Linked DNA regions of Homo sapiens: regions 2 and 3 are each linked to region 1. Evidence: promoter capture Hi-C in 16 types of primary human blood cells and fetal thymus (Javierre and others, 2016). All regions are on one chromosome and are shown on one strand. The core of a region is centred on a gene start or on the middle of the fragment in contact, and the rest is flanking DNA. Distances in the headings are between cores, read along the strand shown. Region 1 holds the start of TMEM51-AS2 (TMEM51 antisense RNA 2). Region 2 holds the start of CELA2A (chymotrypsin like elastase 2A). Region 3 overlaps KAZN (kazrin, periplakin interacting protein).

The links. The method cuts DNA at HindIII sites, captures the fragments that hold promoters and counts their contacts. A CHiCAGO score of 5 or more calls a contact.
Region 2: a contact is called between the fragment with the promoter of CELA2A here and the fragment with the promoter of TMEM51-AS2 in region 1, in 12 of 17 cell types (erythroblasts, activated CD4 T cells, monocytes and 9 more). The highest score is 13.0, in erythroblasts.
Region 3: a fragment that was not itself captured here is called in contact with the fragment with the promoter of TMEM51-AS2 in region 1 in 1 of 17 cell types (M1 macrophages); the score reaches 7.4 in M1 macrophages.

Annotation. Positions count from the first base shown.
Region 1 is chr1:15,169,834-15,173,178 of GRCh38, forward strand. TMEM51-AS2 (TMEM51 antisense RNA 2) reads right to left here and starts at 1,791. Exons shown (of 3, transcript NR_167931.1): 1 at 1,778-1,791; 2 at 1,348-1,482. All of the region lies in intron 1 of TMEM51 (transmembrane protein 51), which reads left to right. RefSeq lists an enhancer at 2,311-2,480. The HindIII fragment of the contact is 7,186 bases long and covers 1-3,345 here.
Region 2 is chr1:15,454,272-15,458,124 of GRCh38, forward strand. It overlaps CELA2A (chymotrypsin like elastase 2A), which reads left to right and starts at 2,461. Exons shown (of 8, transcript NM_033440.3): 1 at 2,461-2,522; 2 at 2,815-2,903. The coding sequence starts at 2,483. The HindIII fragment of the contact is 8,750 bases long and covers 1-3,853 here.
Region 3 is chr1:14,738,704-14,742,358 of GRCh38, forward strand. All of the region lies in intron 1 of KAZN (kazrin, periplakin interacting protein), which reads left to right. Among named protein-coding and RNA genes, the nearest start is that of KAZN, 140 kb to the left of the region's middle. RefSeq lists an enhancer at 3,353-3,655. The HindIII fragment of the contact is 2,615 bases long and covers 1,063-3,655 here.

The DNA of each region.
Region 1 (3,345 bases), core at 541-3,040:
CGCAAAGAATAAAAATTTGACTATTTACTATAATGTTTCTAATGTTTATTCCTAACAGATTACAAGTAATTTTTATTCCCTTTCTCCCTGTCTTCTCTTTTCTAACCTGTACTTTCTGAGTTTCCCACAGAGAAACATGTATGACTTTGTATTAAAGTAACAGCTTTAAGTTCAAATGGTCCTAATGATCTGGGTGACCTTGAGCCATGGCTCACTTTCTCGAAATGGGGAGAATAGTTTTAGGATGTTGTGAAGATTCAACTATAAATGTACTTAAAACAGTACATGCTCAATACATTTTTAGGTGTTACTGTCATAATTATTTTTGAAAATCTTTCCATTCTAGTAAGTCCATTCCAAATCCAAGCCAAACACACCTGAGAGTCGTGGGGCTTTATCTCAGAATGCCTGGGAGTACAGACCCATGAGCAAGCCAACTTCCTCCTTTCCCTCCTCTCCCCCGGCCCTCTGCTGCAGGGCAAGGTAAAGCTAGGTGCCTGGGATACTGCTGGGTTTTTTTTTATCTTTTTTTTTTTTTGAGATGGAGTCACTGCAACCTCCGCCTTCCAGTTTCAAGCGATTCTCCTGCCTCAGCCTCCTGAGTAGCTGGGATTACAGGTGCGCACCACCACGCCCGGCTAATTTTTGTATTTTTTGGTAGAAACGGGGTTTTGCCATGTTGCCCAGACTGGTATCAAACTCCCAGGCTCAAGTGATCTGCCCACCTCAGGCTCCCAAAGTGCTGGGATTATAGGCGTGAGTCACCACCACACCTGGCCTATTTTAACCATTTTTAAGTGTACAATTCTGGGACATTAAGCACATTTACAGTGCTGTGTGACCATCGCCACTGTCTTTTTTCCAGAACTACTACATCATCCCAAACAGAAATGGAGGCAGGTTTTCTTTTTTTGAGACGGAGTCTCCCTCTGTCGCCCAGGCTGGAGTGCAGTGTTGCGATCTCAGCTCACTGCAAGCTCCGCCTCCCGGGTTCATGCCATTCTCCTGCCTCAGCCTCCCAAGCAGCTGGGACTACAGGCGCCCTCCACCACGCCTGGCTAATTTTTTGTATTTTTAGTAGAGACGGGGTTTAACCGTGTTAATCAGGATGGTCTCGATCTCCTGACCTCATGATCCGCCCGCCTCGGCCTCCCTAGAGGCAGGTTTTCTAAATGCTTGCATGAGTGGTTCTCCATCTTCAGCTTGTGTTAGAATCCTCTGGGGTGGGGGGCTTGTTAAAACATAGATTGCTGGGTCCTCCCTCCTCCTCCACCCCCCGCCACATCCCCCACCCCCAGTTGCTGATTCAGTAGGTCTGAGTGGGGCCCCAGGATTTGCATTTCTAACCAGCTCCTGGGTGACGCTGATGCTGTTGATTTGGGGCCACGCCTGGAAGATCGCTGTTTGAGATCAAAAGGTTTGCAGGTCAGAGTGGATGACGGCATCCTTCCAGGTCAATGAGAGAAGCCAAACTTCTATGACCTATGAGATAAGGGGTTTGTTATAGGAATTAGTTCTTATGCATTCATAGGGGGGGCGGCAGAAAGGAAGGTGGAAGAGTTGCCGGGGACCAGGGGCATCGCCACCTGGCCCTGGGTACACGGGCAAACTGGTGGAGAAGTCTACAGCCAGCCGTTGTCTGGTCCATCCCCAGCCAAGTGTCCGCGGGGGGGCCTGGGCTGCTGTTGGTTAACAGGACCAGCAGTCAGGAGAAAGAGCTGGATGCAGAATGGAGGACAGGCTCGAATGTGCTGGAACCCACGGGGCTGTCTCTCACCTCATCCAATCATGATGACCTCTAAAGTGTAATGGTCGCTGCTTCACTTCCATCTCCCAGCTTTCCACAGATTCCTCTTTTGACCAATTATAACCCAGAACCAGTCAGAGAAGGGGATTCTGGGAAAAGTAGTTCCAGCTTAACCAAGCCCGCACAGCAGGAACTACCACAGCTGATCAATCAGTCCTTGCCGCGGAACCTCCTCCTTGAACCCACAGGTGGTTTCTGGGGCTCTGCTGGGCGTTCCCTGACTCTCTTGACAGGACCTTCTAGCAGAAACAGATGTGGTCCATCCCAACAACCCCTTGCTCAGATCATCAGCTGAGAACTTAATAAAAGCAGATTTCCAGGCCCCAGCCCAGGCCTGCCGAGTCAGACTTCAGCAGTGGGACTCAGGAATCAGATTTTCAAACAAGCTCTCTAGCTGATTAACATACCCAGCCACGTTTGAAACTTCTGAAGTATGGAAAAGAAAGTGGACTCTGTCCAGGCACAGTGGCTCACACCTGTAATCCCAGCACTTTGGGAGGCTGAGGCAGGTGGATCGCTTGAGCCCAGGAGTGCAAGACCAGCCTGGGCAACATGGCAAAACTCCATTTCTGCAAAAAAGAAAAAATACCAAAATTAGTGGAGCATGGTGACACGTGCCTGTAGTCCCAGCTACTTGGAAGGCTGAGGTGGTAGGGTCACCTGACCCTGGGAGGTCAAGGCTGCAGTGAGCCAAGATTGTGCCACTGCACCCCAGCCTGGGCAACAGAGTGAGTGAGACCCTGTCTCAAAAAAAAAAAAAAAAAAAAAGGAAGGAAGGAGGAGGGAGGGAGGAAAGAAAAGAATGGAAAGGAAGGAAGGAGAGAGAGAAAGAAGAAAAAAGAAAGAGAAGAAGGAGAGAGAGAGAGACAGAGACAGAAGAAAAAGGAAAAGAGAAAGTAAGTGAACTCTGGGGCTAGACAGCCACGGGTTAGAATTCTGGTTCCACCACGTGCCAGCTTTGTGATCCTGAGCAAGTGACTTAACCCTTTATGATCCTATATTGTCTACAAGAGTTCCTCCTTTTCTATCATTTCACTCTCCACTGTTTCAGTTACCCATAGCCAACTACAATCTGAAAATATTAAATGGAAAATTCCGGAAAGATATGATTCATAAGTTTTAAATTGCATCCCATTCTGAGTAGTGTGATGAAATCTCACACTGTCCCACTCTGTCCTGCTCCAGACGTGAATCGTCTCTTTGTCCAGCAGATGGGTGCTGTCGACACTACCTGCTCATTGGTCACTTAGGAGCGGTCTGGGTTATCAGATCAGAAAACGTCGTCGTTATGTGTAAGGTCGGGTGCTGTCTGTTGTTTCAGGCATCCACTGGGGGTCTTGGAACGTATCCCCCGAGGATATGTACTCAGCTGTTAAATGGGCTCAATGCCTACCTTTTTCATGGAGGGTTGTGGGAACCGAATGAGGCCATGTGTAATAAACTTCTGGCAGGTGAAATATTATTGTGCTTAATCCAGTTAATAGTTGTGCCTGGACATGCCTAGGGAGTAGGTCAGATGGGCCCAGCATCTCCTCTTT
Region 2 (3,853 bases), core at 1,211-3,710, 290 kb after region 1:
AAAAACAAACAAAAAACAAAGCAAAACAAAAAATCCTGACAGCAATGTGATGGAACAGACCAAGCATCTGTTCCTCTCCCTGTTTGTAGATAGGCACCCCGGGCCAGAAAGCCTGTGGGATTGGCCCAAGGTCACACAGCAAATTCACAGCAGGTGTTTGTTCAGTGGCCTCATACAGGACAAACTTTATTTTTATATTAAAACAAACAAAGATACAGAGCAGAACGCCAAATTCACATGAACCTTTAAGATAAAATATGAGACTTAAGAAATAGTTGGTTGCTGTAGTGACTCATACAGACCACAAATGAGTCCAAACTGTTACAGGGATTATGGGATGGAGTTGGGACTGGAATCTACATCTTCTGACATCCAGTCCCATGGGATGCTGCCCCCCACCCAATCTTTCTCACCTTTGCACCATCCTAGGGAGATTGCAGAATTCTTTCCCACCCATTTTCTTACCCGTACAACAATCCTGCAATCCAGGCCTGGATGGTTATCTAGGAAAGTAAGGCCCAGAAGATAAGTGGCTTGTCCAGACCACCACACTCAAAATTGATGGATCAAAGACTTGAACTCGGCTGGGCGCGGTGGTTCATGCCTGTAATCCCAGCACTTTGGGAGGCCGAGGCGGACGAACACGAGGTGAGGAGTTCAAGACCAGCCTGGCCAATATGGTGAAACCCCGTCTCTACTAAAAATACAAAAATAAGTCGGGTGTGGTGGCCGGTGCCTGTAGTCCCAGCTACTAGGGAGGCTGAGGCAGAAGAATCACTTGAACTTGAGAAGCAGAGGTAGCAGTGAGCCGAGATCGCGCCACTACGCCCTAGCCTGAGTGACAGAGCGAGACTCCGTCTCAAAAAAAAAAAAAAAAAAAAAAAAAAAAAAAAAAAAAAAACACTTGATATCAAGTCTTAAGAGTGTGGAGCTGGTCTTTTTTTTTTTTTTTTTTGAGATGGAGTCTTGCTCTGTTGCCCAAACTAAAGTGCAGTGGTGCGATCTCAGCTCACTGCAACCTCCACCTCCAAGGTTCGAGAGGTTATCCTGCCTCAGCCTCCTGAGTAGCTGGGACTACAGGCATGCAGCCCCACACGCTACTAATTTTTGTATTTTTAGTAGAGACGGGGTTTCACCATGTTGGCCAGGCTGGTCTTGAACTCCTGGCCTCAGGTGGTCTGCCCGCATCAGCCTCCCAAAGTTCTGGGATTATAGGAGTGAGCCACCGTGCCCGGCCGTAAAGTGCATTTTCATCCACCAGATGAAGCCCTCCTCTGCCAGCGTTCTGCTTCCCCCCATCATTAGAGTGGCCAGATCCTAATTGTGCATGTCGGCCTTGCCTTCTGCTACATGTGCACCTTCCCCGCATTATGCAAATTCTGCTACATGTGCACCTTCCCCACATTATACAAATCCTTACCACAATGTTGTGAAACAATACTGGGCATGGGTTTCTCTCCCTGTTTCACAGATGGGTCTAGAGACTTACATGACTCAGCCAAGGTCACATTGCAACCCCTGGTATGGCCTAGAACAGGCTTTCTCAGTCTCAGCACCATTGACATTTGGGGCAGGGCGAGTCCTATTGCCCAGTGCATTGTCGGGTGTTTAGCAGCGTCTCTGCTCTCTGCTCCCTGCCCACTGGATGCCAATTTACATCAACCCCAGCCATGACAACCAAAATTCTCTCCAGATGTTGTCAAACGTCTCCTGGTGGGCTGAACCAGCCCCATTGAGAAATACTGCCTTAGAATGCTGTGGGCTCAGCATGCCACCTTAATCTTTTCATTGAAAACACAACTCCTGGCCGGGCATGGTGGCTCAGCCTGTAATCCTAGCACTTTGGGAGGCCGAGGCGAGCAGATCACTTGAGGCCAGGAGTTCGACACCAGCCTGGCCAACATGATGAGACCCCCCGTCTCTACTAAAAATACAAAAATTAGCCAGCAATGGTGGCACACACCTGTAATCCCAACTACTAGGGAGGCTGAAGCAGGGGAATTGCTTGAACCCAGGAGGCAGAGGTTGCAGTGAGCTGAGATCACGCCACTTCATTCCAGCCTGGGTGACAGAGCAAGACTCCATCTCAGAAAGAAAAAAGAAAGAAAGAAAGAAAGAAAACACAACTCCTCTCCTCAGTCTTACCCAGGGAGGGGAACAAAAACAAACAAACAAAAAAAAAAACAACTCCGAGCACCAACAATTAGTATTTTTCTTCCTTCCCTAACACACAACATAATCTCTTCAAAACAGATGGAACCCATATTCCAATATCTACCTTTGGCATCTTTTTCAAAGTATTTCTAGGGTGACATTTGGGAGGAAATGGGAAAAAAAAAATATTTGGACACAGCTCTTTTTTCCACTGGGCTTTGAGAAAACCCCATCTTGCGTGCTCTTACTGTATCTCTCACTGATAAGTCCGCTCATAAAACCAGGGCCTTATCCAGGGCCACGCTTACAGAACTCCCACGGACACACCATGATAAGGACGCTGCTGCTGTCCACTTTGGTGGCTGGAGGTAAGTCCTGTTACCCAGAGGCACTGGTTTCCCATGCCCTGGTGGGGCTGGAAATGGGATCTTCCTGTCCTCCCCTCTCGCCCCCACCCAACCCCTACTGCATTCAGACCTATAATCATAAGAACATTGGAATGGAGTTTCAAAGAATTGGAGCAAAGAGCAGGATTCTATGACCTCTTGGGATCCTTCTAGAACAAGGGTTTTCTATTTGGGGGGTCAGAATGCGCAGCAAGTGTAGTTTACATTGTGTGGGTCGCTGCTTCCTGACTCAAGACCCTTTCTCTTTTCACAGCCCTCAGTTGTGGGGACCCCACTTACCCACCTTATGTGACTAGGGTGGTTGGCGGTGAAGAAGCGAGGCCCAACAGCTGGCCCTGGCAGGTGAGTTGACCACACTGTACTTCTCCCCGTCCCTGCCCCACTCCCTTTACATCTCCCCTTTGCCCTTCCACCATGGCGTCTATTGTGCTGGCAAAGTGAGTATTGATGGGACTCAGAGAGCAGCACAGGCAACTTTAGCAATAAGATATATTTCCGGCTGGGCGCAGTGGCTCATGCCTGTTATCCCAGCACTGTGGGAGGCTGTGGTGGGCAGATCACCTGAAGTCAGGAGTTTGAGACCAGCCTGGCCAACATGGTGAAACCTGCCTCTACTAATAATACACAAGTAGCCAGGTGTGGTGGCACACGCCTGTAATCCCAGCAACTGGGGAGGCTTAGGCAGGAGGATCGCTTGAACCCAGGAGGCAGAGGTTGCAGTGAGCTGAAATTGCACCACTGTACTCCAGCCTGGGCAACAAAGCAAGACTCTGTCTCAAAAAAAAAAAAAAAGATACATTTCTGTGGCCTTGGCCAACCTTGGGAGTGGAGGGAGAGGTGCCTCCTCCAGCTGCAGTAAGGAGCTGTCCCCTCCCCACTGCCCATAGGCAGCAAATATAGTATTACTCTATTAACCAATCAGAGGCTTGTTTACAAATGTACCATCAGTCTAGGAACCATTCAAGACTACCTATGCAAACATTCCTTGCTTTAAGGAACCAATCAGTGCTATTTGCGCAGATTAATCTTTAACCACAGGCAAATCAATGTTACCAATGAAAAAAATGTTTTCTTAAGTTGATATAATCATAGTGGTATCAAGACTAAACTGCCAAGTGGGGCACAGGTGTAAATTACTCAGACGTGTTAATGGTGGGGATTTTAAGAGAAATGTGTAAAGTTTACATTGACATAAACAAATATAGTGAAATCTCATTTATCTGATGTAATTGGGACCGAGTAATTGAAAAGTTGGTTATAAAGAAATTATTTTAAATCATATATATATAGTA
Region 3 (3,655 bases), core at 1,120-3,619, 430 kb before region 1:
GAAGGCTCATTCTTCCATCAAAGAGGTTTATGTACTGGATTTTTTTCGTTAAAAAAATCCCCGTGAAGTGAGGATGACGATTCACATTTTACAGGACAGGAAACTGAACCTCAGAGAGGTTAAGCAACTTGCTGAAGGCCACACAGCAAGTAGAGGGCAGAGTCTGAGTTGAAAACTAGACCCGTCTGGTCAAGTGCAATGGCTCATGTCTGTAATCCCAGCACGGTGGGAGGCCAAGGCAGGAGGATTGCTTGGGGCCATGGATTCAAGACCAACCTGGGCAACCTAGTGAAACCTCATCTCTATTAAAAATAAAAATAAAAATTAGTTGGGCATGGTGGTATACACCTGTGGTCCCAGGAGTCCTCAGGAGGCTGAGGTAGGGGGATCACTTGAGCCCAAGAGTTGAGGTTGCAGTGAGCTATGATTGCACCACGGCACTCCAGCATGGGCAACAGAGTGAGACTTTGTCTCAAAACAAAACAAACAAAACACTAAGCCCATCTAGCGTTAAAAGCCATGTTCTTTTTAATCGATGCTGTGCCAGATATGCAGATTTAAGTCACAAATGGTTTCCATTGTCAAGCCAAATTTTAAATCCGGGACTGTGTGAAGTGAGAAGCTATTGGAGTGGATGGCCTCTGGCTGCTACCCCATACCCCAGCTTTATTAGGTGCTGGCATCGGAAGTACAAGCAAGAGACGGGCAGTGTCCTGTGGTGGATTTCCATTCCTGTGGGGGAAAATCCTCCTGTTCGTGTGATAACTTCGCACCTCCTAAAAGCCCTTTGATGCCCAAAACTCCTTCATAAGCTCAAGTGTTTCCTCCCCTTGGCCGGGTGGGGAAATTCTAAGGAACCATTCTCAGGCTAGGCTGATGAAGGGAGGGATGTCATTTTCTCACTTGAGGACGCTTTCAAGACGTTTCACATGACGAGAAGTCTTCACACCACCAACTTCCCCTTTTTTTTTTGTATTGTTTGAAGTTCAAACTGGAGAACTAACTGTGGTAACGGGTCAAGTCAGCCCAGCCAAAGGAATGACGGATTCAAAAAAAGTGGAAAGCTTCGAATTTCCTCACTTAGAATAAAAAAATGTTGATCTGTCTGCCCACGTGCAAACAGAGAGCCTGCGAGGAATTCATCTGCACCCTTCAGGAGGGTTTGTATCTGCTCTGGGATTTCTACAAGCAGAAAGGAGAATTATTTTCGTGATTCAGAGCAATTCTTCAGTGGGAAATGTCACCCTGAATCCTTTTGGCTCTGGTTTATTGGGGCATTTGCTGAGCAGTTGAGAACGGGGGAAAGAAGGAGTCCTTTCCTTTCTAGGAGGCACCTGGATACATCTGCAGTCAACAAGGGACCATCTGCCTTGCAAAGCGGGGTTTTTGTGGATCAGACCCAAGCCGAGTGTGTGCTGGGGCTGTGGCAAATACCCTGCAGCCCCTAGGAGGCAAATTGGTCCCTCCACAGGCAGCTGTGGCTTAGACATCCCTGGAGCTCAGGGAACCAACCGTGGTATGACACGTAAGAGCTCCAGAGACACCGTGCTGTGCGGGGAGCTGCAATCCCAGATGCACAGGCTGTGTTTCTGGGCAGGACGCCTCTAAACCGATGCAGAGAAAACTTGGTGGAGGGAGTGGAATTTGACTTCCAGTCAAATGTCATCCTGACATCCAGTCCCATGCACAAACTATGATGCTTTTTCCTTTAGCACCTTTGGTCCTTGTCTCCTCTTCACTATTATATGTGCCCACTTCTCTTCTCTGGATTATGACAGCTGCCAACTGCTGCCTTGCTAAAAGTCTCGCCCACCCCAATTCCATCCTATCCTCTGCCTCCGCCCCCCCAAAAAAATGAATTACATTGTATGGTTCTCCTTCTTTAAATCCCTCTATAGCTCCTGTCTCCTTGGCGTGGTTTGAGCCCCACAGACCTCTCCCGCTCTGGCCGCCCGCACTCCCATCTCAGGTTTCTACTGCTGTGATTCTGAGCTGCACCTTGGGCCATTCCTGGGATCAAGAGGGTCTCTTGATTTCTTGCTCTTTGTTCATTCTCCTTCCTTTGCCTGGAATTCCTTTAGCCCTCCTTCTTGCCAGCCCCCAAACAGGAAAGATTCCACCTTTGCTGGGCTTTGGGGATTCCAATTACTAACTGTAGGAATAACAGGGCATTTGGAAATTCAGTTTTATCGTTTCCTGGGGAATGACAGACACTTTCCCTCCATGGTGCCTGTGGGGGTGGCAGGTCCTGCCCTCTGTTCACAGACCTGGAGGGGAGTGGGAAGGAGCTCTGTGCTTTGAACATGCTTCTCTGGGGGTGCAGCCTCCAGGCAGCTGGGGCAGGATCATGCCCTCACTCTCTCCCTTGTGCTACCATGGAGGTCCTGTGTGCTGACCAAGCACTTGTCCCAAGTTGCTGGAGCGGGTCGTTTATTTGCTCTGCATCCGAGGCCTGAATATGATTGGTGCTTCACTTTTAAATGCGTGCATGAATAAATGGACTTGTCTTTCTCCCCTGTGACATAATCCAGAAGAGGAACTCTATCTTGACCATCTTTGCCTCCCCAGCACCCAGCACCATGCCTGAAGCACACAGTTGCTCAATGTCGGGCATGAGGATGCTAGAGGAGGGGGCAGCTGGTGGCACAGGTGGCTATGGTTGCCTCAGCTCAGGCAAATCCCATGGGCATGTGGAGACCCAGAGACCTACAGTTTTTTTCTTGGGTTTGTTGGCTTTTAGAGTTCTAACAGTTCCAGCCTCTTCTCTTGGGCCTCCTGGAAGGGAATGTCTGTCAGAATCTCCCATCAGGTCCTGAAATTTGAGAGCACAACTATTTACATATTGAAAAGGTCAGGATAGCGTGTGACAGTTTTACTTTGATTGAACTAGTATCTTTTTATTTTTCTCTTACATGAGGCTGAGCTACTTGCTGAACTGAAAAGGAGAGGGAGGGAGAAGGGGCACTTCCCCCCGGGGTTTCAAGACCTGCTGAGCTTCATAGCCAAGAGGTTCTCACTCCCCACTCAAGTGTCAGCTTTCCAGAATGGCCCCTTGAAGACAAAAACTCTTTCAAGGCATATTAAACAATAGCAAACTCTGATAAAATTCCATTCTGGTGGCATGTTTTATGAGAAACTGATGAGGGGCCCTGAAATGCATCTCAACCTTGATGTTTGAGCCAGAATCCAAATATTCCCTTTCTGTTAACCAATTCAATGTTGCTTCTCTCTTGTGGTTGTTTTTTTTTGGGTTGTTTTTTGTTTTGTTTAGGATTTTCCTTGTGGGAAGCCACATTCACCTTCTTGATACTATGAAATGGCTATACAGAAAAATAGAACCATCCCCAAGCAAAGATTCCTCCCCCTTTGGAATTGTCCCAGTGTGGACAGCACTTCCCTCCAACTTTGGATGAACAGAACAAACGAAAGGAGGAACTGTGAGTGGGGTCCTCTCCAACTGCTATAATGTCAGCTCCAGGAAAGCAGTGACCTTGTCCGTCCTGTTCACTGCCTGTTCCCAGCATCTAGAAGAGGGCCTGGCTCATAGTAGGCACTGAATAAATATTTGTGAAGAAGCTGCTAGATTGCAGGCTTTGTGATGGCAAGGACTCTGCCTAGGTCTGTGTTATTCATGAATGTGTCCCTCCCACTTAAG